Linked DNA regions of Homo sapiens: regions 2, 3 and 4 are each linked to region 1. Evidence: promoter capture Hi-C in 16 types of primary human blood cells and fetal thymus (Javierre and others, 2016). All regions are on one chromosome and are shown on one strand. The core of a region is centred on a gene start or on the middle of the fragment in contact, and the rest is flanking DNA. Distances in the headings are between cores, read along the strand shown. Region 1 holds the start of EZH1 (enhancer of zeste 1 polycomb repressive complex 2 subunit). Region 2 overlaps PTGES3L-AARSD1 (PTGES3L-AARSD1 readthrough). Region 3 has its middle 30 kb from the start of G6PC1. Region 4 overlaps RETREG3 (reticulophagy regulator family member 3).

Region 1 (7,681 bases), core at 2,375-4,874:
AAGAAAAAGAATTGTAGAAGAAGAGCTAGCTAAAGTTTGGCTGATAATGTCTCAGGAAATGTCAGCTAAGAAAGGGTCTGGTCTCAGGAAAAACTCTCTCATCACAATAAGGAGGAAGCAACTGGCAAACAAATTTTCCTCCAAGAACCTCACGCTTATTGGTGGTGTGGAAAGTTGTTTTTATTATTATTGTTAGTATTATTGAGACAGGTTCTCATTCCATTGCCCAAGCTGGAGTGCAGTGATGCAATTATGGTTCACTGCAGTATTGACTTCCCAGACTCAGGCGATTTTCCCACCTCAGTCTCCTGAGTAGTTGGGACTACCGGCCCACACCACCATGCCTGGCTAATTTTTTTGTGTTTTTTGTAGAGACGGGGTTTCATCGTGTTGCCCAGGCTGGTCTCAAATTCCTGAACTCAAGCAATCTGCCTGCCTCATTCTCCCAAAGTGCTGGGATTACAGGTGTGAGCCACTGAGCCTGGCTGAAAGTTATTTTTGTAATCCTTCCATGAATGAGGGTTACTAAGCCCTGTGTGTAGTCCTATCATGGTGGAGGTGAAAGAGATATACAGTGTAGTAGTGAGTGTAAAGTGATACTGAAGTTGAAGGGCTGGGAAATCCAGGAGGGCTAGAAGGTTTAATGAAGAGAGGGAACTTAGGTTAGGCTGTAGATCAGATTCTGATCTACAGCTTTGGCATAAATCCCTTCAACTTCCTTTCCACCTGAAAATATTTCTGTAACCATACTTTGTTATGTCAAAATGTCTTTGTATCTACTCTCTTGTTATTTGGCATCTTCTCCTAAGGCAGTGTTGTCCACTTCTGTGGCTTCAGTTACCATCAATATGTTGATGGTTTCCAAATCTCTCACTAGTCTCTCTCCTGACATTCAGATCTTCTGGACAGCTCTCCCTAGCTAAAGCCACAGTCTTTCTCCCAACAATTATTAATGTTGTGCAGTGGCTCTCAAACTTCACTACACATTGTAATCACCTGGATGCTTTAAAAACTCTTGAAGCTCAGGCCATACCCTAGATCAATTAATCAGACTTTTGGGTGTGGGAGGTGGGCATCAGTAGTTTTAAAACTCCTTGGCTGGGCACGGTAGCTCACGCCTATAATCCCAGCACTTTGGGAGGCCAAGGCGGGCGGATCACCTGAGGTCGGGAGTTCAAGACCAGCCTGACCAACATGGAGAAACCTTGTCTCTACTAAAAATACAAAATTAGCCAGGCATGGTGGCGCATGCCTGTAATCCCAGCTACTCGGGAAGGCTGAGGCAGGAGAATCGCTTCAGCCTGGGAGACAGAGGTTGCGTGCGGTAAGCTGAGATCGCGCCATTGCACTCCAGCCTGGGCAACAAGAGTGAAACTCCATCTCAAAAACAAAGTTCCCCAAGCTCCCCAAGTGTGAGCCAAGTTTGAGAACCACTTATCTTGAAGGCAGCGGGAACAGAAAGGAATGCCAGTATAAAGGAATATTTTCCTTGATTTGGTAGTTAAATGGATAGGGGCAAGGGAAAAACAGCAAAGTTTTTATATAAGGAAAAGAACACTAAATCTGGTTGGAATCCAGCGACCTGAGTTTAAGACCTGACAGAATTATTCATCTGTGTAAGGCAAGTCTTCTAACTCCTTTAGGCCAGAATAACCTGATGTGTAAACTGAAGTTGCCCTACGTACTTCATACAGTTGTTATGAAGATTACTTGAAAAAATGAACATTATAAGCTTTTCTAATTATACACTTTGAGACAAAATCAAAATCAAGATGTTATTATTTTGCATTTTAATTTGTAATTTTAAAAATTTATATTTTGAAATAATTTCAGATTTAATAGAGTTGCAAATATGGTAGAGTTCCTATATGTCCATCAAACTTCCTCAATTACAATGATTAAAACCAGGAATAAGATTGATAAAATACTATTAATTAATCTAGAGATTTTATTCTAATTTCATCAAATTATCCCACTGGTGTTCTTTTTCTGGACCAGGATTCAAGCCAGGATCACACATTACATTTAGTTGTCATATCTCCTCAGTCTCCCAATCTGAGATGGTTTCTCACCCCTTGTCTTTCATGATCTTGACACTTGAAGATACTGGCCAGTTATTTTGTAGATTGTCTCTCATTTTGGATTTGTCTGATGTTTCCTCATAATTAAATTCAGCTTATGCAGGCTGGGCATTGTGGCTCATGCCTGTAATCCCAGCACTGGGAGGCAGAGGTGGGGGGATCACCTGAGTCAGCAGTTCGAGACCAGCCTGGACAACATGGTGAAACCCCATCTCTACTAAAATTACAAAATTTGCCGGGTATAGTAGTGCATGCCTGTAAACCCAGCTACTTGGGAGGCTGAGGCAGGAGAATCGCTTGAACCCAGGAGGCAGAGATTGCAGTGAGCCGAGATTGCACCATTGCACTCCAGCCTAGGCAACAAGAGTGAAACTGTCTCAAAACAAACAAACAAACAACACGCACAAAAAATCAGCTTATGCGTGTTCGTCAAGAATACCACAGAAGTGATTTTGTGCGCTTCTCATTGCATCATGTTCAGAGGGACCTGGTAAGAATACCTCTCAGCTGGGGGCAATGGCTCATGCCTGTAATCCCAACACTTTGGGAAATCAAGGTGGGAGGATGGCTTGAACCCTGGAGTTCAAGACCAGCCTAGGCAACACAGCAAGACCCTGTCTCCTTAAAAAGAAGAGGGAGGCCGGGCGTGGTGGCTCATGCCGGTAATCTCAGCACTTTGGGAGGCCGAGGTAGGCAGATCACTTGAGGTCAGGAGTTTGACAGCAGCCTGGCCAATACGGTGAAACCCCATCTCTACTAAAAATACAAAAATTAGCCGGGCGTGGTGGCACGAACCTGTATTCCTGGCTACTTGGGAGGCTGAGGCGGGAGAATTGCTTGAGCCCGGGAGGGAGAGGTTGCAGTGAGCCGAGATCGCGCCACGGCACTCCAGCCTGTGTAAGTAACAAAGCGAGACTCCGTCCAGCCTCGCCCCCCGGCAAAAAAAGAAGAAGAAAACAATACCTCTTATCACTAGTGATGCTAACTTTGATCACTTAGTTAAGGTGGTGTCTGACAGATTCTTATCTGTAAAGTTGCTATTTTTTTCCCTTTGTAACTAGCAGGTGTCTTGTGGGGATTTATTTCGATACAAGGCTATAATTTTGATTCTAAGTGACTAGAAAACTATGAACAGAAATAGGGAGATCAGACATAAATAAAGGGCTTAGAACCCATAGACCGGTGTCTGGAGAACTGGTAGGGGTGAAGCATCGGTATGAAGGTGATCTGGGTTGGCTTCAAACGCTGAAGTGAGATGTGGCTTGTCACCAGCGCGTGGGGATGGCAAATCCGCTGAATAGGGTCTTCAGGAAGATATTAGTGGCTCTGCGAAGGTTTCCCCAGAGCCCTTCCCCTCCCCTGCCAGCGCCGCTTTGGAAGCCGTCTGGGAGGCTGCACCCGCCAGGACTCCTGAGTGCGGGGTTTTGGCGGCAAATGACAGTAGTGCGTCCGCGCGGCACGGGTAAGTCAATGCGCACGCGCCGACAGGAGGCGCGGGGCGGGGCACGGCGCAGGGGTGGGGCCGCGGCGCGCATGCGTCCTAGCAGCGGGACCCGCGGCTCGGGATGGAGGGTGAGTGAGTAAACAAGCCTGGGCCGGGCGGTGGGGCCGGGCCTCCTCCCCTCGCCGCCCTGGGCCTGAGGGAGGGAGAGGCGGAGGGATCAGGAAATTGGAAGGAATCCGAGGGACACACTGCCTGCCTGGCCGGGGGTAGCAGGCGCCCCTCCTCATTCCGAGGGTGGGGGAATGGGGGCGACGGGGCGAGAGAGACCCAGGCGAGGACAGCGTCTGGGGCTGCGAGGGCTGTGTGCCCGGGAGGAGGAGCGGCGGGGGCGGGCTCGGGGACGGGGAATCCCGTTGGATGGCGGTGTGGGCCGGTGGGCGGGAGCCCCAGCGCCCAAAGGGCGCGGGAGGGCGGTGGCACCTGCGGGGGCCTTTAGCGAGGTGGACTCTGGGGACCTGGAGCTGTGCTTGGGGAGGGCTAGAGACCGGGGCTGATCTTGCGATGGCTTTCGGGGATGTTGAGGAGGGGTAGCAGTAAAAACAAGGCCGGGACTAGGGTGAGGTGAGTAAGGCTCCCAAGGCACAAAGTGTAAAGGAGCACTGACTCAGGGTCGCGCAAGTGCAGTGAGCGCCTCCTCACGTGCGTCCTGGGTGCCTCGGTCGCCTCACCCCAGGCCTGGCCCTGAGCAAGAATCTCCTTCACTCCAGACTTTTGGTCTCACGCCAATGATCGCTCACCCCCACCATTCAACCGAGGATCAAATGATATAAATAAAAGTGCCTTGAAGCACAGACAAGGTGTTGTATTTGGGACATGCCTGTTAGGAAATGTGGGACAAACTTTTATTTCAATAAAAAGTGACTACTGAGGAATTGTTTCTTGAGCAGGGAAGGGAAGGGATACCTGAAGGATGTTAGTGCCCCCCGTGGAATGTGAAGGAATATGGAGGGTGAAATACAGGGTTGTATGTGATGTAGCCCAGGCCGATAGGAACCTGACGCTTGGCAGGGGAGGATGAAAGCAAAGGAGCTCAGGTACACTAACAATTAGGTGGGTGCAAGGATGGCAATGAAAACGCGAGTCTCCTCCACGTTTGCTGCCATACTGCCGCTGAATAAAAAAATTCCCACACCCCATGTTTTTTAAATTTAGGAAACTGATATTGAAGGAGGTTTCCAGCCTGAGAAGGTGCTAACCCTATTAGAGGTTTCTGTGAAAGCTTGTCTATTTTAAGTCTTGGAATCCCCAGATATGCCACTGATAAAAGAGATTACTTACATAGGAGAGAGTGTGTGTTAGGAGATAAGTACTTTAGACTGGGCTCGGTGGCTCATATCTGAAATCCCAGCATTCGGGAGGCCCAGGCAGGAGAATAGCTTGAGCCCAGGAGTTTGGGACCAGCTCAGGCAACAATAGCGAGACCTCATCTCTACAAAAAAAAAATAGCCAGATGTGGTGGCCTTCTCCTATAGTCCCAGCTGCTTGGGAGGCTGAAGCAGGAGTATTGCTTGAGACTGGGAGGTCAAGGTTGCAATGAGCTCTGATCCTGCCACTGCACTCCAGTCTGGGTGACAGCACCTGAGACCCTGTCTCAAGAAAAAAAAAAAAAGCCTGGCACGGTGGCTCATGCCTGTAATCCCAACACTTTGGGAGGCTGAGGTGGACCGTTCACTCGAGCCCAGGAGTTTGAGACCAGCCTGGGCAACATGGGACAACTCCATCTCTACTAAAAATACAAAAATTAATCAGGTGTGGTGGCACACGCCTGTAGTCCCAGCTACTCGGGAGGGCTGAGGCATTAGAATCGCTTGAACCGGGAGGTGGAGGTTGCAGTGAGCCGAGATTGCACCACTGCACATCAACCTGGGCAACAGAGTGAGATTCTGTCAAAAAAAAAAAAAAAAAAAGGAGGCCTGGCACAGTGGCTCAGGCCTGTAATCCCAGCACTTTGGGAGGCCAAGGCAGGCGGATCACTTGAGGTCAAGAGTCCGAGAGCTGCCTGGGCAACATGGCGAAACTCCTTCTCTACAAAAATACAAGAATTAGCTGGGCGTGGTGGTGGGTGCCTGTAATCCCAGCTATTCAGGGGGTTGAGGCACGAGAATCGCTTGAACCTGGGAGGTGGAAGTTGCAGTGAGCCGACATGCACCACTGCATTGCAGCATGGGTGACAGAGCAAGACTCCATCTCAAAAAAGAAAAAAAAAAGGGAGAGAGAAGTACTTAAAAACGCACATACATAATAGGAGAAAGGACTATCTATAAAACTGTAATAATGCTATCATTGTCAAGGTTTATGCTTATTGTTGTGTGTCACAAACATAATGAATCAACTCCAAAGGCAGGGATATATGTTTTATTCATTGATGTACCCCAAACACCTAAAATGGTAACACATAGTAGATACTACTATTAAGTATAATAGTAGGTGCTCAACATATATTTGTGGAATAAATAGTGGGGAAATTTCTGGCACTGGGAGTCAGGTGATCCGGATGCTAGTATTGTCAGTAACTGGCAGAGTACTTGTATGCTAATCGTGGAACTTGATGCTAAGGCCCAGCTTAAAATTCCTTAAAGTGTAAATGACTTCTTCATTATGATGGTTACATTAGTGCCCTTTGAAACAGCACTAGAGGCTGGGCTGATGGCTTACACCTATAAGCCCAGCACTTTGGGAGGCTGAGGCTGTTGGATCACCTGAGGTCGGGGAGTTCAAAACCAGCCTGGCCAATATGGTGAAACCCCATCTCTACTAAAAATACAAAAAATTAGCCAGACGTGGTGGCGGACACCTATAATTCTAGCTCTTGGGAGACAGAGGTGGGAGAATCGCTTGAACTTGGGAGTGGGAAGTTGCAGTGAGCTGAGATTGCACCACTGCACTCCAGCCTGGGCACGAAAGAGTGAGACTCTGTCTTGGGAAAAAAAAAAAAAAGAGAGACAGCACTGGAATAAGGAGGCTGGAACTAAAAATGAAATTTTACTCCCAAGAAGACATTTGGGAGAAGGGAAAGTTAAGAAAAATGTGGTCGGGCTTGTTTCTTATATATTTGCCTTTGGATGATACCTTCAAACAACCAATTTAAGTCTGGACACTGTGGCTCATGCCTGTAATCCCAGTATTTTGGGAGGCCGAGGTGGGCGAATCACTTGAGTTCAGAAGTGTGAGACCAGCCTGGGCAACATGGCAAAACTCTGTCTCTACAAAAACATTACAAAAATTAGCCAGGCCTGGTGGTGTGGGCCTGTAGTCCCAACTACTCAGGAGGCTGAGTAGGGAGGATTGCTTGAGCCCAGGAGGCAGAGGTTGCAGTGAGCCGAGATCAAGCCACTGCATTCCAGCCTGGGCAACAGAGCAAGACCCTGTCTCAAAACAAAATAAGAAACCGATTCAAAATATTAATTTTGTCTATTTTTAATTCCTAGGGTCTGAAACCTGGCTTCATTACTCTGTAGGCAACAGTTCCTTCCCTTTGATTTGCTGTTTATATGAAACATGTAACAATTCATGTCATTAAGTATATCTTTTTCTGGTCTTAGATTAAGTTTAAAAAGTTTCACTTTGGGCCCCCCACGTTGTGGCTCACAGCTGTAATCCCAGCACTTTGGGAGCAGGCCGAGGGATTGATCACTTGAAGCCAGGAGTTTGGGACCAGCCTGTCCAACACGGTGAAACCCCGTTTCTACAATTAGCTGGGCGTGGGCATCCCACACCTGTCATCCCAGCTACTTGGGAGGCTGAGGAACGAGAATCCCTTGAACCTGGAAGGCGGAGGTTGCAGTGAGCTGAGATGGCACCACTGTACTCTAGCCTGGGCGACAAAGGGAGACCCTGTCTCAAAAACAGTTTCCACTTTGTTCACTATTTCTATTTTGTTCACTAGTAGCGTCCCAGAAAAGATTTGAGGTAGCAACACTAAAAACACACTAATTCCATTTCTACATAGAATAAACTAAAGAGAAAAGAGAAAACAATTTGTGGAGAAAAGTGAAGATAATTAGATAGGTTGGGATTGAGGGGAAGGGTTAAAGGTTAAAAAAAGAAAAATTGTGCTTCTCCATTCTGGAAAGTCCCCAGCTTTTTCTTTGTTTTG
Region 2 (7,681 bases), core at 3,434-5,933, 200 kb before region 1:
GCAGGCGCTTCTCCAGGACTACATCAGCACGCAGAGTGCTAAGGAGTGAGGGCTTAGGGCACTCACCTCCTGTTTCCACAGGAATCTTTTGGTCAATAAAATAGATTGACTCAGAATGGTTGCGCTACCACTTGTATTTATATGACTAATTCGTACTGTATACTCCATTGTGCTTGTGTGGTTACTTTCCGTTTATAAATAGATAATTTTCTAATTTAGTTCATGCACTGTAATGTTTAGAAGGTGGTGGATTAATTTATACCAAACCTTGTGCTTTTGCACTCAGTTGGATAAGAAATGAACATCTGATCAGCTGAGTCCACTGCTCCCATAATTTTGTTATAATCCACAAAGGCACATGGCTTTTTCCCGCCCCTACCGCCCCACCCCCTGAGATGGACTCTTGCTTTGTTGCCCAGGCTGGATATAGTGGTGTGATCTCAGCTCACTGCAACCTCTGCCTCCCGGGTTGAAGGGATTTTCCTGCCTCAGCCTCCAGAGTAGCCAGGATTACAGGTGTGTGCCACCATGCCTGGCTGATTTTTTTGTTTTTGTTTTTTGTTTTTGTTTGAGATGGAGTCTCGCTCTGTCACCAGGCTGGAGTGCGGTGGTGCGATCTTGGCTCACTGCAACCTCTACCTCCCAGGTTCAAACTAATCTCCTGCCTCAGCCTCCCGAGTAGCTGGAACTACAGGCTCGCACCACCATGCCAGCTAATTTTTGTATTTTTAGTAGAGATGGGGTTTCACTATGTTGGCCAGGATGGTCTCCACCTCTTGACCTCGTGATCCGCCCACCTTGGCCTCCCAAAGTGTTGGGATTACAGGCATGAGCCACTGTGCCCAGCTGGCTTCTTAGTTTTCTTTCCATTTCTGTTGTCTACTTCAATCACAGTATCACTGTGGAATGTTGACAGCATTGTCACCTTCTTGGGGTAAGTGCTGCAGTTGCAAGCATCACTGGCGAGTATTCTCAGGGCAAACAGGAAAAGGGTTAAAGTAAGAATCAGAGATTAAGAGGGACGTGTAATGATGAAAAATATAACAGTTCTAAATTTGTATGCATCTAATAACAGCCTCAAAATACATAAAGCAGACATTGACAGATCTCAAGGGAGAAACGGACAAATCTGTAATCAACGGAAGACTTAAGCTCATCTTTCATTAGTGATAGAGCAAATGGAAGCATAATATGTTCAGGAGCACAGGCTTTGAAGTTTCACAGACCTGGGTAGAAATACTGGATTTGCACATCCAGGAAAGGTGATAAAACAAAGATCCAGTCACAGCTTTAGCTAGAACAAAGATGGTTAAGGCCTAGACAGCCAGGATGAAATAACAGAGGAGAAATACAAAAGCTGACATCCAGGGGAGATAACCTGTGGCTGTGGCTGTGGCTGTGTTCAGCTATTTGTTCTTCCGACTCTGAAAGGAACTTTTTTTTTTTTTGGAGATAAGAGTCTTGTTCTGCCACCTAGGCCGGAGTGCAGTGGCATGATTTTGGCTCACTGCAACCTCCGCTTCCTGGGTTCAAGCAATTCTTGTGCCTCAGCCACCCAAGTAGCTGGGATTACAGGTGTGTGCTACCAAAAATTTCCTTCAACCCTGCCACTGAGTTACCCAATTTCTTTCTCCAGAATCAATCACTTAATTTTTTTGTTTTAGATGGAGTTTCGCTCTTGTTGCCCAGGCTGGAGTGCAATGGCGCAGTCTCCGCTCACTGCAACCTCCGCCTCCCGAGTTCAAGCAATTCTCCTGCCTCAGCCTACCGAGTAGCTGGGATTACAGGCATGTGCCACCATGCCCGGCTAATTTTGTATTTTTAGTAGAGATGGGGTTTCACCATGTTGGCCAGGCTGGTCTCGAGCTCCTGACCTCAGGTAATCCGCCGGCCTCGGCCTCCCAAAGTGCTGGGATTACAAGTATGAGCCACCATGCCTGGCCTTTTTTTTTTTTTTTTTTCCAGATATAGTCTCACTCTGTTGCCCAGGCTGGAATGCAGTGGCACAATCATGGCTTACTGCAGTCTCAACCTCCTGGGAACAGGTGATCCTCCCACCTCAGCCCTCTGAGTAGCTGGGACTAGAGGTGTGCACCACCACACCTGGCTAATTTTTTGTATTTTTTCTAGAGACAGTGCTTTGCCGTGTTGCCCACACTAGTCTTGAACTCCTGGGCTCTAGCAATTTGTCCACTTTGGCCTCCCAGTGTTGGGATTACAGGCGTGAGCCACCATGCCCAGCCTGTTACCAATTTCTTATATATCCCTCTGGTAGTATTTTAAAAAATAGATGTACATAAATCTTCCCTCTTTTTAAACATAAATGGTAGCACATTGTATACTCTTCTGCATCTTGCTTTTCTCAGAGTGCCATGTTTTAGATAAAACCATAGTGTAACACTCATGCTATACAAAATGGGTCCATTAGTGGGAGAAAGGGAAATGTTTGCTTCACAGAAGCTTCCTTACTTTTGTAGAAGGACTCAGGCAGGATCTTGAACAGAGACCCATGTGAATTTGTCTCTGTGTGAGATCTCTGTCCCTCTCTGTGTTTGTTTCTTTAGGGTGTGCCTTAGTCTGATCTGACTGCTATAATAACAAAAACTAGGTAGCTTATAAACAACAAAAATGTATTTCTCACAGTGGAGGCTGGGAAGCTGGCAAATTCAGTGTCTGGTGTGAAGGTTCAAATACTGGTTCAGGAATAGCCATCTTTTTGCACCCTTGGTGCAAAGGGTAAGGGGTCTTTCTTGGGCCTTTTTTTTTTTTTTTTTTTTTTGAGACAGATGGAGTTTCACTCTTGTTGCTCAGGCTGAAGTGCAATGGTGCAATCTCAGCTCACTGCAACCTCCACCCCCTAGGTTCAAGTGATTCTCCTGCCTCAGCCTCCCGAGTAGCTGGGATTACAGGCGCCTGCCATCCCACCCAGCTAATATTTTGTATTTTTAGTAGAGATGGGGTTTCACCATGTTGGCCAGGCTGGTCTCGAACTCCTGACCTCAGGTGATCCGCCTGCCTCAGCCTCCCAAAGTGCTGGGATTACAGGCATGAGCCTCCGCACCCAGCCCTCTCGGGCCTCTTTTATAATGCACTAATTTCATTCACGAAGGCTCTGCCCCCGTGACCTAATCACCTGCTAAAGGGCCCACCTCCTGATACCACTTAGGGGGTTAGGATTTCAACATATGAATTTTTAGGGGTACACAAAGATTCAGAACACAGGTGCAACAACAAGAACAGTGACCTGGGAGGCCACTCTTGCTCACTACCACTCAGGTGGGTTCTTGTCACTTAGACCTAGAGCAACCATGTAATTTTAATATCCAGAGTTAGGCAAACCTCATGCCAGAACAACAGTCAGAAACCCAGACGGTGTTAAGGTAGCCTGGATGTCTGGTCCCCCTGCTGAGACTCCCTGAGCTTCAGTTTCTTGACCTGAAAATGGACACATGAACTGGGTGTCCTAAGAAGGAAGGAACCTTATGAAATAATTAAGAAAAGCCATAAACACTTGAGCAAATTATGTGAAAATGGTAATTGGTTGTATAAAGAAAGAGAAAATAAAGCAGCAGTTTTTGAACTGGTGATGTCATTCTTGCCTGTCACTGAGGCCCTAATCCAATGCCCCAGGGAGAGGGGGAGAAGAACAGAGTGTGTTCAGGGGAAGGGGTGGATTGTCTTTTATGAGGTTCACCAGGAAACAAAATGAGTTCATTTATTGGAGTAATCAAGTTTTAGGTACACACACAGGTTATATATTCTGGAATGTTACTATAACCCACTTTACGGCACAGAAATAGTAAGGGGGACTCCTTGGCTTCTAAGGAAATTTTTTTATGTGCGTACCCATAAATTGCTGAAGACAGCTGCTGTAGCTTCCACTAAGGTGATGCATGTAGGTACTAGAACAGATGTTAGTATGAAAGATGAAAGGTATCAGGTGGAAGAGACCCAGAGCAGTAGACAGACTGAATTCAGGGCCGGCGCTGTGGCTCATGCCTGTAATCCCAACACTTTGGGAGGCTGAGGCAGGTGGATCACCTGAGGTCGGGAGTTTGAGATCAGCCTGACCAACATGGGAAAAACCCCGCCTCTACTAAAAATACAAAATTAGCCAAGTGTGGTGGCGCATGCCTGCAATCCCAGCTACTCTGGAGGCTGAGGTAGGAGAATTGCTTGAACCCGGGAGGCGGAGGTTGCAGTGAGCCAAGATCGCGCCGTTGCACTCCATCCAGCCTAGGCAACAAGAGCAAAGCTCCGTCTCAAAAACAACAACAACAACAACAACAACAACAAACACACACAGACTGAATTCAGGAAGGCATTGTGCCAGTGTCCTGTGCTCCACCCTGCCTTGGAGTCCTGAGTGGAAACCAGTGAGTCGGCCAAGCTGTGCTAGAATGCCAGATCTGTCCCTGAATGAGAACTTAAATAAACTCTAGGGTTTATTTAAAACCTGGTACCAAAAGGAAAACAGACAGTGTTTGCCCTAATGAAAAAAATCTTTTTCAGAAAGCGTCTCTGTCTCCCATTCCTTTCCTGAATTTGATCCAAACTATGACTAGTGTTCTCAACAGAGGGCAAGTAGGGATGTTTGGGAACGAGTGATGGAGGAATTTCCTTCTTTCTTTAGAAAGGTCTGTATCTTCTGTGCAAAATACTACAGGCAGAGTGCCAGGCTTCAAACTAAGGAATAAGTAGGACTTAGTTAACTGACCTGGAGTTGTGTCTGGAGCAGAAGAGGCTCTCACAGGGACAGCTTTCTCTTTTGCTGAGCCATAAACTCCCTGCAGAAGTGACCTGTGGCAGAGGCCTGTTAGTAAATATCCCTGTTCATTTTAAAACACCAACCTCAAAGCCAAGAGTTTGGAGGAGGGAGAGGGGTTGAGGAGTTGTTGGTCAAAGGATACACACTTTTAGTTAGATAGGAGGAATAAGTTTTTTGATTTTTTTTTTTTTTTTTTGTCTGCTTGTGGGCTTGTTTGCTTTTTTTTTTTTTTTAGACAAGGTCTTACTCTGTTTCCTGGGCTGGAGTGCAATGGAAATCTTGTCTCATTGCAGCCTCGACTTTCCTGGGCTCAAGCGATCCTCCCACTTCAGCCTCCTGAGTAGCTGGGACTACAAGCACACACCACCGCACCTGGCTACTTTTTCTACTTTTGTGGAGACAGGGTCTTGCCATGTTGCCTAGGCTTGTCTTGAACTCTTGAGCTCAAGTGATCTTCCTGCCTTGGCCTCCCGAAGTTCTGGGATTACAGGCCTGAGCCACCTTGGTTGGCCAAGATAGGAGAAATAAATTTAAGATAACTGTAGTACTACACAATGACTATAGGTGTTTAATAACAATGTATTAGGCCAGGCGTGGTGGCTCATGCCTGTAATCCCAGCACTTTGGGAGGCTGAGGCAGATAGATCACTTGAGGTCAGGAGTTCGCGACCAGCCTGGCCAACATGGTGAAACTCCATCTCTACTAAAAATACAAAAATTAGCTGAGCATGGTGGCACACACCTGTAGTCCCAGCTACTCAGGAGGCTGAGGCAGGAGAATCACTTGAACTCCGGAGTCAGAGGTTGCTGAGCCGAGATTGCGCCGAGATTGTGCCACTGCCCTCTAGCCTAGGCAAAAGAGCAAGACTCAATCTCAAAAAAACAAAACCACTGAAAACTAATGTATTGTATTCTTGAAAATTGCAAAGAGAGTAGTTTTTTTTTTTTGAGACGGAGTTTCGCTCTTGTCGCCCAGGCTGGAGTGCAGTGGTATGATCTCAGCTCACGGCAACCTCCTTGTCCTGGGTTCAAGCGATTCTCCTGCCTCAGCCTCCCGAGTAGCTGGGATCACAGTCACCCACCACCATGCCCAGCTAATTTTTGTATTTTTAGTAAAGACAGGGTTTCACCATGTTCACCAGGCTGGTCTCGAACTCCTGACTTCAGGTGATCCACCCGCCTCAGCCTCCCAAAGTGCTGGGATTACAGGCGTGAGCCATTGTGCCTGGCCTACAATTTTATATGTATCAATTAAAATTAGTTAATTATTTAAGAGGCCAAGTGTTTCAGAAAAGAAGGGAGGAATCAACATTTTCTTCTGTGAAAATGCAAGTTCTCCCTTTCATAATACATAACTTGTGTTGTTGTTGACTTGTGCATATGATACATAATCACAGAATTCATTTGTTTATACGACAGATGTTTATTGAGAGTGTAGTGTGTGCCAAGCATTGTACCCAGCACTGGGGCCACACTGGTGAGTAATCTGGCCGTGGTCCCTGTTATGGCATTTACAGCTGTGGAGAAGGAAGATAAGAAAGAAACAATCCAATACATGTAAAAGTATAAATTCTGTTGAATCTGAGAGGAAGAGAGCAGGTAAACGAATAGAGAATAATGGGAGGAAGAGGGTAGGAGAGGGTAGTGGTGTTGTCAAAGGAGGCTGGGGGAGGATTTAGTTTTCTCATAATTTCCAGCATCCAGGCCATCTGAAATAAAGCAAACATAGTTTAATAGACAACACAATTTTTTTTTTTTTTTTTGAGATGGAGTCTCATTCTTTCACCCAGGCTGGAGAGAAGCGGCACAATCTTGGCTCACTGCAACCTCTGCCTCTCGGGTACAAGAGATTCTCCTGGCTCAGCCTCCCAAGTATCTGGGACTACAGGTGTGCGCCACCACACCCAGCTAATTTTTTGTATTTTTAGTAGAGACGGGGTTTCACTGTGTTAGCCAGGATGGTCTCAGTCTCCTGACCTCATGATCCACCTGCCTTGGCCTCCCAAAGTGCTGGGTTTACAGGCATGAGCCACTGCACCCAGCCAGCAACACAAGTTTTTAGACAAGTGTGAGACCAAGTAGCAAACATAAGCTATGTTTGCCCATTTCTGCTTGCCAGCATAATTTTCCAAAGCTTCTGACTCTGTGAAGACCTGCAGCTCTCCAGAAAGATGCTTTGAAGACAACAAAACAGAATACACAGCCCCCATGTCTCTTGTCCTCTTGCCGGAGTCACTGCATTCCTTAAAAGATGAATGACCTCCAGCCTGGGCAACATGGCAAAACCTCATCTCTACAAAAAAATACAACAATTGGCTGGGCGTGGTGGTGTGCACCTGTAGTCTCAGCTATTTGGAAGGCTGAGGTGGGAGGATTACCTGAACCTGGGGAGGTTGAGACTGCAGTGAGCCATGATTGTGCTACTGCATGCCAGCCTGGGTGATGGAGTGAGACCCTGTCTCAAAAAAAAAAAAAAAAAAAAAAAAAAAAAGAATGGCCTTAATCCCTGGCTTTTCCTATACATAAGATGACATCTGACGGGGTTAGTGATGATGCCTCTGTGATCTAGGACCAGATGTACTCTGACACACAAATCTTGCTGTGATTCTGCTTTCATGTAATTCTGAGCAAGTCTGATGGGATTTTGCACATACAGAACCTCCACCCCTATATATAAGCAGGGATCTGAAACACTGGGCCAGAGCCTGCTCCTAGGCTAGAGGCCTCAATCTATAGTCTTCAGCAAGACTTCTGAATAAAGTTAACTTTAATTCTTTAAAAGCTTGATATTTTTCTTTACTTGATGGAAGTCTGCTGGTTTCCCTTCCAACCACATGGCCATGCATAAGCCCCCCTCTTTTTTTTTTTTTGAGACAGGGTCTCGCTGTGTCACCCAGGCTGGAGTACAGGGTA
Region 3 (7,681 bases), core at 3,413-5,912, 180 kb before region 1:
AGGAGTGGGTTTTGGACATACTTGATGATTGAAGGGAGGAGCGAGGGAAAGAGAGGAGTGAAGGATGCTCTGCTGGGGCTGGAACAAGGTTCTGGGGGTGCCTTGCTGGGCCCTTCATTGCTGTGGCCGTGTTGGGGGAATGGGGAGGTGCTGTAAGCAGACAGGAAGGGTCTCCAAGGATTATAGGGGTTTAGTCAACTTGAGCAATCAGCCAGTTCTACAGCCTCCCGCCCTGCAGCCTGTTTTCCCTAAACCCTGTGTGGAATGTGGTCCCCTTGTTTGTTGGAACCAGCTCCTGACAGACCCCAACTCATAGAGGAACCAGAGTGAACTTTCCTCATGACTGTGCTAGAGTCTGCACCCCAGCAGGAGCAACGGCTTCATTACCATCACGTGTAACCTATGGGCTGGCATGATGCCTCACTGCATCTGGACAATTGGGACCCCTCCTCTACTAGCGATGATGCACCCTCTCCCATTTCTATCACCCTGGAAAACCTTTCTGTTACTTTCCCTCGGGGAGACACTGCTTTGGAGAACACGCCCAGTGTCCTCCTTACTTGTGCCGAGTAAAACTCCTACTGATCAAAACCTGCGTTCTCCGAACAGGCGTGGTGGCTCATGCCTGTAATCCTAATACTTTGGGAAGCTGAAGCGGGTGGATCACCTGAGGTCAGGAGTTCAAGACCAGCCTGGGCAACATGGCAAAACCCCATCTGTACTAAAAATACAAAATTAGCCAGGTGTGATGGCACATGCCTGTAATCCCAGCTACTCGGGAGGCTGAGGCAGGAGAATCGCTTGAACCCAGGAGGTGGAGGTTGCAGTGAGCCGAGATCACGCCACTGCACCCCAGCTTGGGCAACAGAGTGAGACTCTGTCTCAAACCCCCCCACCCCCAAAACAAACAAAAAAAACTAACAAAAAACCCTGTGTTCTCATGGCAAGTCGTTTGTTACTTGCCAGGCGAACCAACCTCATTTTTTTCTTTCTGGTAACAGTGGCGGCAGCAGGGGCACTTGAGGAGCTCAGGCAGCCCATGTGTGTGTTCTGGTGCTTCAGGACTGAGTGCAGCTCTGGATGTTGTGATTATAGCTCAGCCTTTGCTTACTCATTTCTCTTAGAGGATGAGCCTAAAAGTAGGCTTGAATCTTAAACCTTTTTTTTAAATTAAAAAATTGGTTTTTTGATTGTTTAGTTAGGCAGCAGAGGAGTCTTCTTGTTTTTATGGGACGGTTGATTAAGTTTAACCACCCAGAAAGAAATGTTTCTCATTAAGAAACATTAGGCTGGTCCGATGGTAGTGGGTCATCAGAACTTATTAACATTAGTGTCACTAAAGTTGGTATACAACCCCCCATTGCTAAATTTCACTGGATTAAGAAAAAAAGAAACATTAGTTAAGAATAAAACAAAACACAGTTACCTGCCAGGTTTTTTTTTTTTTTTGCAATTGAGTCTTGCTCTCTCACCCAGGCTGGAGTGCAGTGGCAACGATCTCAGCTCACTGTAACCTCCAACTCCCGGGTTCAAGAGATTCTCCTGACTCAGCCTCTCGAGTAGCTGGGACTACAGGCGCCCGCCACCACACCTGGTTAATTTTTTTGTATTTTTAGTAGAGATGGGGTTTCACTGTTTTAGCCAGGATGTTCTCAATCGCCTGACCTTGTGATCCATCCACCTTGGCCTCCCAAAGTGCTGGGATTACAGGCGTGAGCCACTGCGCCCGGCCAAAAATGTTTTTTTAAAAAGAAAAGAAATTAGTGAAAGCATGAACTTTGGAGTCCACAGTTTTCACCCTGCCATTTTGATTGTGTGTTTTAACTCAGGTGACAAGGTGACATTTTCTCATAAATACATTTAAATCAGCATTCTACCAACACTGATGACTTTTCATTAAAACTCTATAAATTGCAGATTAATACACAAAACCACAAAGCAGAATAGTACAACTGACTCTTTTTTTTTTTTTTTTTTTGAGACAGAGTCTTCTTGTCTTGTGGCCCAGGCTGGAGTGCAGTAGTGCAATCAGAACTTATTGTAAACTCTAACTTCTGGGCTCAAAGGATTCTTCTGCCTCAGCCTCTCAAGTAGCTGGGATTATAGGTGCAAGCCACCACACCAGGCAATTGACTTTTAATATTTCTCACGTTTCTTTTTAACCTTTAGAGAAATCTCTGATGTATCTGATGAAATTTTTGTCTGCAGTTCAGTAGCTCTTTCAGTTTCATATTGATTTTTGATACTCTCTTCAAGAGGCATTGATGGATCTAGAAAAAAAAAGGTTTTTCATATTCTCAGTATTCTTTTTTTTTTTTTTTTTTTTGAGATGGAGTTTCACTCTTGTTGCCCAGGCTGGAGTGCAATGGTGCGATCTCGGCTCACTGCAATCTCTGCCTCCCAGGTTCAAGTGATTCTTCTGTCTCAGTCCCCGAGTAACTGGGATTACAGGCATGTGCCACCATGCCCAGCTAATTTTTGTATTTTTAGTAGAGACGGGGTTTCATCACATTGGTCGGTCTGGTCTTGAACTCCTGACCTCAGGTGATCAGCCCACCTTGGCCTCCCAAAGTGCTGGGATTACAGGCGTGAGCCACCACGCCCGGCCTACTTCTTTTTTCAAAATGTTAGCTTCAGTTATTTGTTTCTTTTGTAATTTCGTATTTTTGTGTTTTTTTGTAGAGATAGAGTCTCCCTATATTGCCCAGGCAGGTCTTGAACTCCTGGGCTCAAGTGATCCTCCTGCCTCAGCCTCCCAAAGTGCTGGGATTACACATGCGAGCCACTGTGCCTTGGCCCTCAGTTATTTCTGGATGATGAGATTGGAGTGATTTTTAGTTTCATCTTTATACTTTTCAGTAGTTTCCAACATTTCTGAATGAAATGATCTTCTTTGTAATTCATTTGTGTGATACTTTTCTAATGACAAAAAGCAAGATAAAGAGCCAGGTATGGTGACGTGCACCTACGTAATCCTAGCTGCTCAGGAGGCTGTGGCAGGAGGATCACTCAAGCCCAGGAGTTCGAGAGCAACCTGAGCATCATAACAAGACTCTGTCTCAACAAAAAAAATTAAGTTAAAATACTCTGTCAGAGCAATAAAGACCTTAAACTTCCCAAATGTCAACTCAGTAAAACAACAACAAAGTTCCCTGAGACTCTCTCAGTTATGATTTTACTCCCGAAGCAGTCACTGTCTTGGAAGGATGACTGGCTCTCAGGAGGCTGCCTCAAACGATGCATGTGAAATTCATGTAGGCTTCCAGTGTGTGTGTATGTGTGTTTTGGGGTTGTGTTTCCTGCTGTTTATAACAGGAGGATAGTCTGGTCAACCAGAACAAGGAGACCAAGCCAACAGACATCACCATCAGCAAAGGGACGGTATAATGGCGGTTGGCAAGGCAAATGAGGGCTAGTAAAGGAAATGCAATTATAGTGAGGGTGAAGATTAAATCTCTATGCAGGAATATTGCAGATAAAATAAATGAAAACAATTATATCTTTTTTTTCTTTTATAGAGAGGGGGTTGCGGTATGTTACCCAGGCTGGTCCTGAACTCTGGGTCTCAAGCAATTCTCCCGTCTTGCCTTCTAGTGTTGGGATTGCAGGCATGAGCCACCGGGCCTGGCCTGAAAATATTTTATATTGAATAAAAAATTACAACATAGAGTTCAATTGGAAACATTATTGTGAACCCATAAGCTTTAAGAGAAATATAATTTCCTGGCTCTGACCCTAAAATACAGTTCATTAACAGCATTTCTTTTTCTTTTTCTTTTTTCTTTTTTTGAAATGGAGTCTCGCTCTGTTGCCAGGCTGGACTGTAGTGGCTCAATCTTGGCTCACTGAACCTCTGCCTCCCAGGTTCAAGTGATTCTCCTCCCTCAGCCTCCTGAGTAGCTGGGATTATAGGCATCTGCCTAATTTTTGTATTTTTAGTAGAGATGGGGTTTCACCATAATGGCCAAGCTGGTCTTGAGCTCCTGACCTCATGATCCACCTGCCTCAGCCTCCCAAAGTACTGGGATTACAGGCGTGAGCCACCATGCCCTGGCCACAGCATTTCTTTTCCTTCTTCTTTTTTTTTTTTTCCTTTTTGAGATGAAGTCTCTCTCTGTTGCCCAGGCTGGAGTGCAGTGGCATGATCTCAGCTCACTGCAACCTCCGCCTCCTGGGTTCAAGCAATTCTCCTGGCTCAGCCTCCTGAGTAGCTGGGATTACAGGCACACACCACCACGCCCAGCTAATTTTTTGTATTTTTAGTAGATATGGGGTTTCCCCATGTTGGCCAGGCTGGTCTCGAACTCCTGACCTCAGGTGATCCTCCTGCCTCAGCCTTCCAAAGTGTTGGGATTACAGGCTAGGCCACTGCACCTAGCCCATTAACAGCATTTCTTCTGCTAACCTCCCACTCTCGTGCACCCATCAAAAGGAAATGAGACTTCTTAGTGGGTGGCTGATTCTGTGTCTTGGAACAAGGAAAATTTGGAATGGGCCTAGAACACAAGGATTTTAGGCCAGCAATGGTAGAAGGATAAGGAAGCCACTGTCCAAATTGCAACAATTTGACATCAAAAAAGGAACATAGTAATTATGTTTATTTATAATTGACAATTATGATTAAAATAAGTTCAGTGTGTGAAAGACCTCAAAATAAAAAAAAGTTGATATATGATTTTCTGATATATGACATATGATTTTTCTCTGCTTTTATGATATTTGAAGCATCATAAAGGGGACGCGGAGCTGGAGTGTCACAGGGGCTGAGGCAATGTAATTGGTTAAGCCACCAGTAGGGTGTGTGATCACCAACAAAAAGAAAAAGTCCTACACTGAAAGCCCATGGGGTTGAAGCAGGATTTGGTTCACGCTAGAACTTCTGAGAGTCAGTGTGTATCTTGATAAACAGCAACAGAGCTTAGTCATGAGTTCCCTGTAACTGGCTGCTCAGAGAGTTTGCTCCCCACCTCCTGGGGAGAACTTACCTGGGAAGAGGCCAATGTTTCTATCTAAGCCTGTCCCGTCCTCTGAGTTTCCAACCTTCTAATTTCACGTTGGGAGTGCCTCCGAACATGTTTTTGCTGAGTCATTTGTGGAGCTCTAGAATTGTTGAACCTATCATTTGTTTTCCAAGTTAGGGGCAAACAGTAATATATTGCTCATTTATTATTCAACCAAGATATCTGGAGTCCTCCTCATGTGTTAGGCCAGGGCTAGGCACAGGGTTTAAGTGCAAGAGTGAGCAAAGCAGGCATGGAGCTGCACTCATGGGGCCTAGTCTAGTGGGGAAGACGGACATGATCCAAATAATCACAAAGTGACGTTTGGTAGAGAGCAAAGTAAAAGGGGTGCTTTGGCAGGCCCAGAAGAGGAACTTGATCATGACTCATGGTGGGTGGGCAGGGAGGCTTCCTTGAGAAAGTGATACCAATGTGGAGGACTGAATTATGTGAAGAGGCAGAAGAGTGTTCTAAGAAGGGGGGTGTGTAAAAGCCCAAGCTCGGAGGAGGGCTGGAGTGTGTTGCATTGGAGGAACCAAGATGACATTGGCTGTGCTTTGTGGAATGAGGTGAAGGAGACCAGGTGAGGTGCGGTAGACAAGGTCCAGCTGAGGTAAGCTTTCAGAGGCCATATAAAGATTTTTTTTTTTTTGGTAAGAGCATTATTGAGATATAATTCACACACCACAAAATTCACACATTTAAAATGCACAATTTGGTAGCCAGTTGAGGTAGCTCATGCCTGTAATCCCAGCACTTTGGGAAGCAGAGACAGGTGGATCACTTGAGGCCAGGAGTTCAAGACCAGCCTGGCCAACATACTGAAACCCCGTCTCTACTAAAAATACAATTAGTTGGGTATGGTGGCACATGCCTGTAATCCCAGCTACTTGGGAGGCTGAGGCAGGAGAATCACTTGAATCCAGGAGGTGGAGGTTGCAGTGAGCTGAGATTGCGCCACTGCACTCCAGTCTGGGGCAACAGAGAGAGACTCCATCTCAAAAAGAAAAAAAAAAGAAAAGAAAAGAAAAGAAATGCTGTGGCTGGGGTGCGGTGGCTCACACCTGTAATCCCAGCACTTTGGGAGGCCAAGGTGGGTGGATCACTTGAAGTCAGGAGTTTGAGACCAGCCTGGCCAACATTGTGAAACGCCATCTCTACTAAAAATATAAAAATTAGCCTGGTGTGGTGGTGGGTGCCTGTAATCCCAGCTACTCGGGAGGCTGAGGCAGGAGAATTGATTGAACCTGGGAGGCGGAAGTTGCAGTGACCTGAGATCACACCATTGCACTCCAGCCTGGGGGATGAGAGCAAAACTCTGTCTCAAAAAAATAAAATAAAATAAATAAATAATGTACAATTCAGCCGGGCATGGTGGCTCATGCCTATAATCCCAGCACTTTGGGAAGCCAAGGTGGGAGGATTGCTTGAGGCCAGGAGTTTGAGATCAGCCTGAGCAACACAGTGCAACTTCATCTCTATGAAAAATTAAAAAGTTACCCAGGCATTGTGGTATCTACCTGTATTCCCAACTACTCTGGAGGCTAAGTTGGGAGGATCTCTTGAGCCCAGGAGGTTGAGGCTGCAGTGAGCTATGACCATGCCACCGTGCTCCAGCCTGGGTAATAGAGTGAGACTCTCTCAAAAAAAAAAAAAAAAAAGAAAGAAATTAAAAAAAGAAAAAAATACAATTCATTGGTTTTTAGTATATTCACAGAGTTGTACATAACCACAGTCAATTTGAGAACATTTTCGTCACCCTAAAAAAAAAACCCTGCAGCCTTCAGCAGTCACTCTCCATTTCCCCCAAACATCTAGCCTTAGGCAACCACCAATCTACTTTCTGTCTCTATGGATTTGCCGATTCTGGACATTTCTATAAATGGAATTATATGGTATGTGATCTTTTGTGCCTTGCTTCTTTCACTTAGTATAATGTTTTCAAGGTTCATCCACACTCTAGCATGTATTCATACTTCATTCCTTCCATGGCCAAATAATATTGCACTCTATGGCTAGGCTATATTTTGTTTATTTATCATTAGTTGATGGACATTCAGGTTGTTTCTGCTTTTTAGCTATTATGAATAATCCTGCTCTGAATATTCATGTACAAGTTTTTTTCCTTTTTAAAATTTATGTATGTATTAATTTAAAAATGGAGAGATGGGTAGAAAATAAAAGATGAAGGAAAAAGATACAAAAAGAAGTGAGACCAGACAGGGTGGCTCACTCCTGTAATCTCAGTACTTTGGGAGGCCGAGGCGGGTGTATTACTTAAGGTCAGGAGTTCAAGACCAGCCTGACCAACATGGTGAAACCCAGTCTCTACTAAAAACATAAAAATTAGCCATATGTGGTGGTGTGTGCTTGTAATCCCAGCTACTCGGGAGGCTGAGGTAGAAGAATTGCTTGAACCTGGGAGGTGGAGGTTTCAGTGAGCTGAGATTAAGCCACTGCATTCTAGCCTGGGCAACAGAGCAAGACTCCGTCTTAAAAAAAAAAAAAAAAAGCAGAAATGAAAAAACACACAAAAAAGCAAAAAATAAAGACGGGGGTCTCACTACGTTGCTCAGGCTGGTCTTATATTCCTGGACTCAAGCAATCCTATCTCTTCGGCCTTCCAAAGTGCTGGAATTACAGGCATGAGCCACGGCGCCTGGCCAAGTTTTTCATAATAA
Region 4 (7,681 bases), core at 4,627-7,126, 150 kb after region 1:
CAAAACTTTTGTAGAGACAGAATCTCAATATGTTGCCCAGGCTGGTCTCAAACTCCTCATCTCTAACAGCCCTCCCGGCTTGGTCTCCTAAAGTGCTAGGATTACAGGCATGACCCACTGCACCTTGACTGCTTTGTGGTTTTTAACAATCTGTGAATCTACATAGTCTATGAATTAGGAATATTGTTTTGGAGCAGTCCACAAGCTGAGTCCCAAGTAGAGATCTCTGTTGGGATCTGCTTTTTGCAGTCACTAGTCTCAGTGAACCATACTGTATTTCTAGGAGGTTATTATAGAATTTGTTATTTCACAAATGAAATGTAAAAATTTTATTTTTGTCCGCCCCCCCAAAAAAATAAATAAATAAAAATGACCCAAAAAAGTGATTAAGGATATACAGCAATTCTGAGTTAGAAGGTTAGGATTTGAGTAAAAAATAATAGAAACAAGAAATGGAAGATGGGGAGCCCATTTAAGTAGAGATATTTGTTCTGTTAAAAAAAATCTACACATCTGATTTCTTTTCTTTTTTTTTTTTTTGAGACGGAGTCTCGCTCTGTCGCCCAGGCTGGAGTACAGTGGCGCGATCTCGGCTCACTGCAAGCTCCACCTCCCGGGTTCACGCCAGTCTCCTGCCTCAGCCTCCCGAGTAGCTGGGACTACAGGCGCCCGCCACCATGCCCACCTAATTTTTTGTATTTTTAGTAGAGACCGGGTTTCACCGTTTTAGCCAGGATGGTCTCAATCTCCTGACCTCGTGATCCGCCCGCCTCGGTCTCCCAAAGTGCTGGGATTACAGGCGTGAGCCACCGCGCCCGGCTACACATCAGATTTCTAATGAAATCTGTTGAGTGAATGTTCCTGATGATAGTCTTTGCAGGGTTCTTGTCTTTGTGAGCCGAGAAGACTCCCAAGGATGCCTTGGTTTATTTACTTCCCCTCTCTTTACCTTTAGTTTTTATCTGCCCTAATTGTATGGTTGAGTGCTTTCTCTCCACTGTTAGCAGCTAGCTGATTTCATTTCTGGTTTTTTTGCAAGCAACAACTGTCACTGCATGATATAGGTTGGGTTAATTTTTCCTTTGAATTTACCGGTGACTTGGGCTCATTAACCAGGCGGTCACAAGTGCTGTACAGTAACAGGCTTTCTGTCCCTGTAGAATGGGATGCTTTGTTTTGAAGTGCCCTTGAGACAATCTTAATCTGTAATAACAAAGGAACCTAGAAATCATGTCTTTGAAAATAGACATGTGGTCATTATTTATGATTATAGCAAACTTTAATTTACTGGTACTAATAGTGAGGCTCCATGGTATAGTTAATCACAAAAGTTTATGTTTGGTTCTGGAATTTCTCACGATGTTTCTGGACACCAATTGCTATTCCAGGGATATTTTATTTAGACTGATCATTTAATTGGATTTTAGTCCCTGACAGAGTGGAGGGACAGTTCACAAAAGGGGAAAAAAAAATCAATGGATATATAAAATTTCACTCTCACAAATAAGAAAAGAATTCAAATATATGTAAATGGAAATTATTTACTAATTTCTATCTTAAGTTTTTTTTTTGGCGGGGGACAGGATCTCACTGTCGCCCAGGCTCGAGAGCAGTGGTGTGATCATGGCTTATTGCAACCTCAACCTCTGGGCTCAAGCCATCCTCCCACCTCAGCCTCTCAGGTAGTGGGGACTACAGGTGTGTGTCACCACACCTGGTTAATTGTTTTGTATTTTTCGTAGAAACAAGGTTTCACCATGTTGCCCAGGCTGGTCTTGAACTCCTGGGCTCCAGCAGTCCACCCACCTTGGCCTCCCAAAGTGCTGGGATTACAGGTGTGAGCCTCCACACCTGGCCTTAAGTATTTTTAATGATCATAATTAATTCTGGGGAAAATATGGAAAAATGGGCATATGGCTGATAGGAACATAAATTGGACAGCCTTTCTAGCAAGTAGTTTGGTAACATATTTTAAGCCACTTAAGAAGCTTTTCCAGGGCTGGGGGAAATGGAGAAAGAATACTAATGGGTATGGGTTTCTTTTGGAGTGATGAAAATGTTCTGAAATTACATAAGGCTATTAGTCGTACAGCATTGTGATTTTTTTTTCATCTCTGCTGCTGGCAGATGAATTGAAAGAGAATTTTATCGTATACAAACCATTATCTCAATAAAGCTATTTTCTTACTTTTTTTTTTTTGAAACGGAGTCTTACTCTGTGGCCCAGACTGGAGTGCAGTGGCATGATCTCAGCTCACTGCAACCTCTGCCTCCCAGATTCAAGCAGTTCTCCTGCCTCAGCCTCCCAAGTAGCTGGGACTACCGGCGTGCACCACCATGTCTTGGCTGATTTTTGTATTTTTAGTAGAGATGGAGTTTCACCATGTTGGCCAAAGTGGTCTTGAACTCTTGACCTCAAGTGACCCACCTGCCTCGGCCTCCCAAAGGCTGGGATTACAGGTGTGAGCTACGGTGCCCGACCAATAAAGCTATTTGTTTAAAATAGTTAATGCCTTTGACCCAGTAACATGCTCAGTGATGTATAGTTCAGCTTTTATTACATCAAAAAATTGGAAACTTTTGGCTGGGCGCAGTGGCTCATGCCTATAATTCTCAGCACTTTGGGAGGCCGAGGCAGGCAGGTCACCTAAGGTCGGGAATTCAAGACCAGCCTGACCAACAATGGAGAAACCCCATCTCTACTAAAAATGCCAAATCAGCCGGGCATGGTGGCGCATGCCTGTAATCCCAGCTACCTTGGGAGGCTGAGGCAGGAGAATCCGTTGAACCTGGGAGGCAGAGGTTGTGGTGACCCGAGATCGCGCCACTGCACTCCAGCCTGGGCAACAAGAGCAAGACTCCGTCTCAAAAAAAAAAAAAAAAAAAAAGTTGGAACCTTCTTAGTTTATTTTTCGTTTATTTTTCTTTTCTTTTTTTTTTTTGAGAGAGTCTCGCTCTGTCTGTTGCCCAGGCTGGAGTGCAGTGGCGCGATCTCGGCTCACTGCAAGCTCCGCCTCTCAGGTTCACGCCATTCTCCTGCCTCAGCCTCCCGAGTAGCTGGGACTCCAGGCGCCCACCACCACTCCCGGCTAATTTTTTGTATTTTTTAGTAGAGCCAGGGTTTCACCGTGTTAGCCAGGATGGTCTCGATCTCCTGATCTCGTGATCTGCCTGCCTCAGCCTCCCAAAGTGTTGGGATTACAGGCTTGAGCCACCGTCTTAGTTTATTTTATTTTATTTGAGATGGAGTCTTCCTGTGTTGCCCAGGCTGGAGTGCAGTGGCACAATCTCAGCTCACTGCAACCTCCGCCTCCCGGATTCAAGCAGTTCTCCTGCCTCAGCCTCCTGAGTAGCTGGGATTACGGGCACCCGCCACCATGCCTAGCTAATTTTTGTATTTTTAGGTAGAGATGGGGTTTCACCATGTTGGCCAGGCTGGTCTTGAACTCCTGATGTCAAGTGATCTACCTGCTTCAGCCTCCCAAAGTGCTGGAATTACAGGTTTGAGCCACTGCGCCTGGCCCATTCATTGTTTTTTTTGAGAGAAGGTTTCACTCTGTCACCCAGGCTAGATTGCAGTGGTGTGATCATGGCTCACTGTACCCTGGAACTCCTGAGCTCAAGTGATCATTCCACCTCATGGCTGATGAGACCACAGGAGTTCATCACCACATCAGGCTAATTGTCTATGTATTATGTGAAAAAGTTTTAAAACCATAGTGTTTTTATATGTGAATTTTTTAATGAAGAGAATAGCCTGTCTTCACACTTTTTAGAGTACATATGTGGATAATGGATCATTTTAAAAATATTTTATTATGGAAAGCTTAAAACATGTGTAAGTAGGCAGAATAATATTGTGTGCCACCATGTACATAATATTATTTTTTTCAATTCCTGGCCAATTTTGTGTCTTCCATACCCCAGTTCTTTTCTACGTCTTCCTTATTGTTTGACACAAATTATTGATGTGTCATATCATTTAATCTAGGTATTTCAGTATATTTTTCTGAAAAAGAGACTTTAAGAAACATCTGCCATCATTATCACATGCAAAAAATTAATGATTCTAGTCAGTGTTCACATTTCCAATTTTCTTATAAATGTCATAAATGATACTTTTTTTTTTCTTTTCGAGACAGGGTCTTGCTCTGTCTCCCAAGCTGGAGTGCAGTGGCACAATCAGAGCTCACTGCAACCTCAACCTTCTGGCTCTAGCAATCCTCCCACCTCAGCTTCCCAAGTAAATGGGAGTACAAGCGTGCACCACCACACCTAGCTAATGTTTTTCTTTTCAGTAGAGATGAGGTCTTGCTGTGTTGCCTAAGCTGGTCTCAAACTCTTTGACTCAAGTGATCCTCCTGCCTCGGCCTCCCAAAGTATTGGGATTACAGGCTTTAGGTACCACATGTGGCCTGTTGTGTGTGGTTTTATTTGTTGTTTTTTTTTTAAACTCTTTTTTTCCCCACAAACCAATTTGTTAGTGTTTAGGTGGTTTTTTCTGTTTTGCTTTTTTGTTTTTTGAGATAGGGTCTCGCTCTGTCACCCAGGCTGGGGTACAGTGGCACGATAACGGCTCGCTGCAACCTCAGTTTCCCGGACTCAAGCTGTCATCCCACCTCAGCCTGTTGAGTAGCTGGGATTACAGGTGCCCGCCACTATGCCCAGCTAATTTTTTGTATTTTTAGTAGAGACGGGGTTTCGCCATGTTGGCCAGGCTTGTCTCGAACTCCTGACCTCAGGTGATCCACCTGCCTTGGCTTCCCAAAGTGCTGGGATTACAGACGTGAGCCACCATGCCTGTACTTTTTTTTCGATAAACATGAATTCATGTTAGTTGTATAATTTTTTTTTTTTTTTTTTGAGACGGAGCCTTACTCTGTCACCCAGGCTGGAATGCAATGGCACAATCTCAGCTCACTGCAACCTCTGCCTCCTGGGTTCAAGCGATTGTCCTGCCTCAGCCTCCTGAGTAGCTGAGATTACAGGCATACACCACCACGCCCGGCTAATTTTGTATTTTTAATAGACATGGAGTTTCTCCATGTTAGCTAGGCTGGTCTCAAACTCCCGATCTCAGGTTATCCACCCACCTAAGGCTCCCAAAGTGCTGGGATTATAGGCATGAGCCACTGTGCCCAGCCAACAACCCTATTTCAATTTTTCCAGCCTACCACCTAAAGGATACTGTGACTATATGTAAGATTAAAGAATAAAAGCAGTTTAACAGAAATAAGCCTCTAGAGCTGCCTCAGGCCATTGATCTTCTCTCTAAAGCCAGTGCATCATCCCAACAAACAAGCACATTTAACAAGGCCAAGGAGAAGAGCTCTAGGGTTTCTTGCTCCCCAGTGCTGCTGCTTCCCTTCCCCAGCAGCAGCACATGGCATCGCTGTTTTCTCCAGAGTACTTGAAAGGGCTCTCTAGGGAGGCTTGCCAGACTGTTGGCAATTTCCCCTTCCCAGAGCACGATTACTAACACAAATAGAAACTAGGGTAGGGAAAGGATATTAAGCTCTCCTAAGAAGGTTGGTTTTCCAGAGATGATGGCAATAAAAACATATCCCTTATAATAAACTGGTAAACATTAAAAAAAAAAGACTGTTTTCTAAGACCTGGACTATTTAAATTGCTTGTTACAGCCCTTACCTTCCATTCTTATAAGCTATGCTTCAATTCAATTCAACATACCTTTGAGTACCTGTTACATGCCAAGGCCTTGTGGTAAGAAGCCCAGTTACAGAAAAAAATAAGACACAAACTTTACTCTCAAGTAAATTCATGTGTGTTTGTGTTCACGATATAACGTGACAGGTAATAATAACAAACAGGAAGATATCTAAGCTGTGATTTGCAAGATAAATGTTAAGGAAATGGGGCCGAAAGGTGTGGTAAGAGAGAGAAGACATTCAGATAGGGAAAACACCAATCTAGTAAGATACTTAAGGAATTGCAAGTAGTTTGATAAAACTGAAATATAAAAAACAAAGGGAGGGAATCAGTGTGGGGAGAGAGGCAGGATCCAGATCATGAAGGCCCTTTTATGACGGGGTAATGGGATTTCATCCTGCAGATGAAGATAAGCCAATAGTTTCATAAAGGGTATATTTTCTGGGTCTTGAAGGCTAAAATTGTGAGCATCTTCCATAACAAGATTAATCCTTGTCCATAAATCAATTTTAGTCCCAGATTTATCTTTTTTTGGAACAAGCCACAATAATAACTTCAGAGGAAGAGGCCGGGTGCGGTGGCTCACGTCTGTAATCCCAGCACTTTGGGAGGCTGAGGCGGGTGGATCATGAGGTCAGGAGATCGAGACAATCCTAGCTAACATGGTAAAACCCCGTCTCTACTAAAAATACAAAAAATTAGCCGGGCGTGGTGGCGGGCGCCTGTAGTCCCAGCTACTCGGGAGGCTGAGGCAGGAGAATGGCATGAACCCGAGAGATGGAGCTTGCAGTGAGCCGAGATCGCACCACTGTACTCCAGCCTGGGCAACAGAGCGAGACTCCGTCTCAAAAAAAAAAAAAAAAAAAAAAACTTCAGAGGAAGAAGAGTTTTCTTTGTGGTATAAAATAACGTTTCTTGGCCAGGCGCGGTGGCTTATGCCTGTAATCCCAACATTTTGGGAGGCTGAGGCGAGCTGATCACTTGAGATCAGGGATTCGAGACCAGCCTGGCCAACAAGACGAAACTCCGTCTCTACTAAAAATACAAAAATTAGCTGGGCGCAGTGGCGCACACCTTAACCCCAGCTACTCAGGAGGCTGAGGCAGGAGTATTACTTGAACCCTGGAGGCGGAGGTTGAAGTGAGTGGAGATCTGTGCCACTGCACTCTAGCCTGGGTGACAGAGTGAGACTCTGTCTCAAAAAAAAAAAAAAAAAAAAAAAAAAAATATATATATATATATATATATATATATATATATATATACACACAAAATATATATATACACAAAAATATATATACGAAATATATATATATATATATACACACACACACACACACACACACACAAAATAGATTCTGGCTGGGCGCGGTGGCTCATTCCTGTAATCCCAGCACTTTGGGATGCCGAGGTGGGTGGATCACAAGGTCAGGAGATCGAGATCATCCTGGCTAACATGGTGCAACCCCGTCTCTACTAAAAATACAAAAATTAGCTGGGCGTAGCGGTGCATGCCTGTAATCCCAGCTACTCAGGAGGCTGAGGCAGGAGAATTGCTTGAACCTGGGAGGCAGAGGTTGCAGTGAGCCAAGATCACGCCACTGCACTCTAGCCTGGCGACAGAGCTAAGACTCCGTCTCAAAAAAAAAAAAAAAGAAAAAATAGATTCTTCTGGCCAGGTACAGCGGCTCATGCCTCTAATCCCAGTACTTTGGGAGGTCGAAGCGGGCGGATCACTTGAGATCAGGAGTTTGAGACCAGCCTAGCCAACATGGTGAAACCTTGTCTCTATTTAAAAAATTTAAAAATTAGCTGGGCATGGTGAGGGCACCTGTAATCTCAGTTACTTGGGAGACTAGGACAGGAGAATTGCTTGAACCCAGGAGGCAGAGGTTGCAGTGAGCCAAGATGGCGCCATTGCACTTCAGCCTGGGTGACAAAGCCAGACTCTTATCTCAAAAAAAAAAAAAAAATTCTTCCAAACAGCAAAACTTAATAGACAGATCACCTC

Evidence for each region. Contacts are between HindIII fragments. The CHiCAGO score rates a contact against its expected background, and 5 or more counts as called.
Region 2: a fragment that was not itself captured here is called in contact with the fragment with the promoter of EZH1 in region 1 in 1 of 17 cell types (endothelial precursors); the score reaches 5.3 in endothelial precursors.
Region 3: a contact is called between a fragment that was not itself captured here and the fragment with the promoter of EZH1 in region 1, in 2 of 17 cell types (endothelial precursors and erythroblasts). The highest score is 7.9, in endothelial precursors.
Region 4: a contact is called between a fragment that was not itself captured here and the fragment with the promoter of EZH1 in region 1, in 1 of 17 cell types (erythroblasts). The highest score is 6.3, in erythroblasts.

What each region holds. Positions count from the first base shown.
Region 1 is chr17:42,740,983-42,748,663 of GRCh38, reverse strand. It overlaps EZH1 (enhancer of zeste 1 polycomb repressive complex 2 subunit), which reads left to right and starts at 3,624. Exons shown (of 21, transcript NM_001991.5): 1 at 3,624-3,653. RefSeq lists a silencer at 3,467-4,046. The HindIII fragment of the contact is 3,072 bases long and covers 1,735-4,806 here.
Region 2 is chr17:42,942,961-42,950,641 of GRCh38, reverse strand. It overlaps PTGES3L-AARSD1 (PTGES3L-AARSD1 readthrough), which reads left to right. Exons shown (of 17, transcript NM_001136042.2): 17 at 1-116. The coding sequence ends at 49. AARSD1 (alanyl-tRNA synthetase domain containing 1) reads left to right here. Exons shown (of 12, transcript NM_001261434.2): 12 at 1-116. The coding sequence ends at 49. Among named protein-coding and RNA genes, the nearest start is that of AARSD1, 18 kb to the left of the region's middle. The HindIII fragment of the contact is 4,442 bases long and covers 2,463-6,904 here.
Region 3 is chr17:42,926,549-42,934,229 of GRCh38, reverse strand. It overlaps the pseudogene RNY4P2. Among named protein-coding and RNA genes, the nearest start is that of G6PC1, 30 kb to the right of the region's middle. RefSeq lists enhancers at 5,166-5,315, 5,205-5,781. The HindIII fragment of the contact is 1,916 bases long and covers 3,705-5,620 here.
Region 4 is chr17:42,596,836-42,604,516 of GRCh38, reverse strand. All of the region lies in intron 1 of RETREG3 (reticulophagy regulator family member 3), which reads left to right. Among named protein-coding and RNA genes, the nearest start is that of RETREG3, 8.7 kb to the left of the region's middle. The HindIII fragment of the contact is 4,096 bases long and covers 3,829-7,681 here.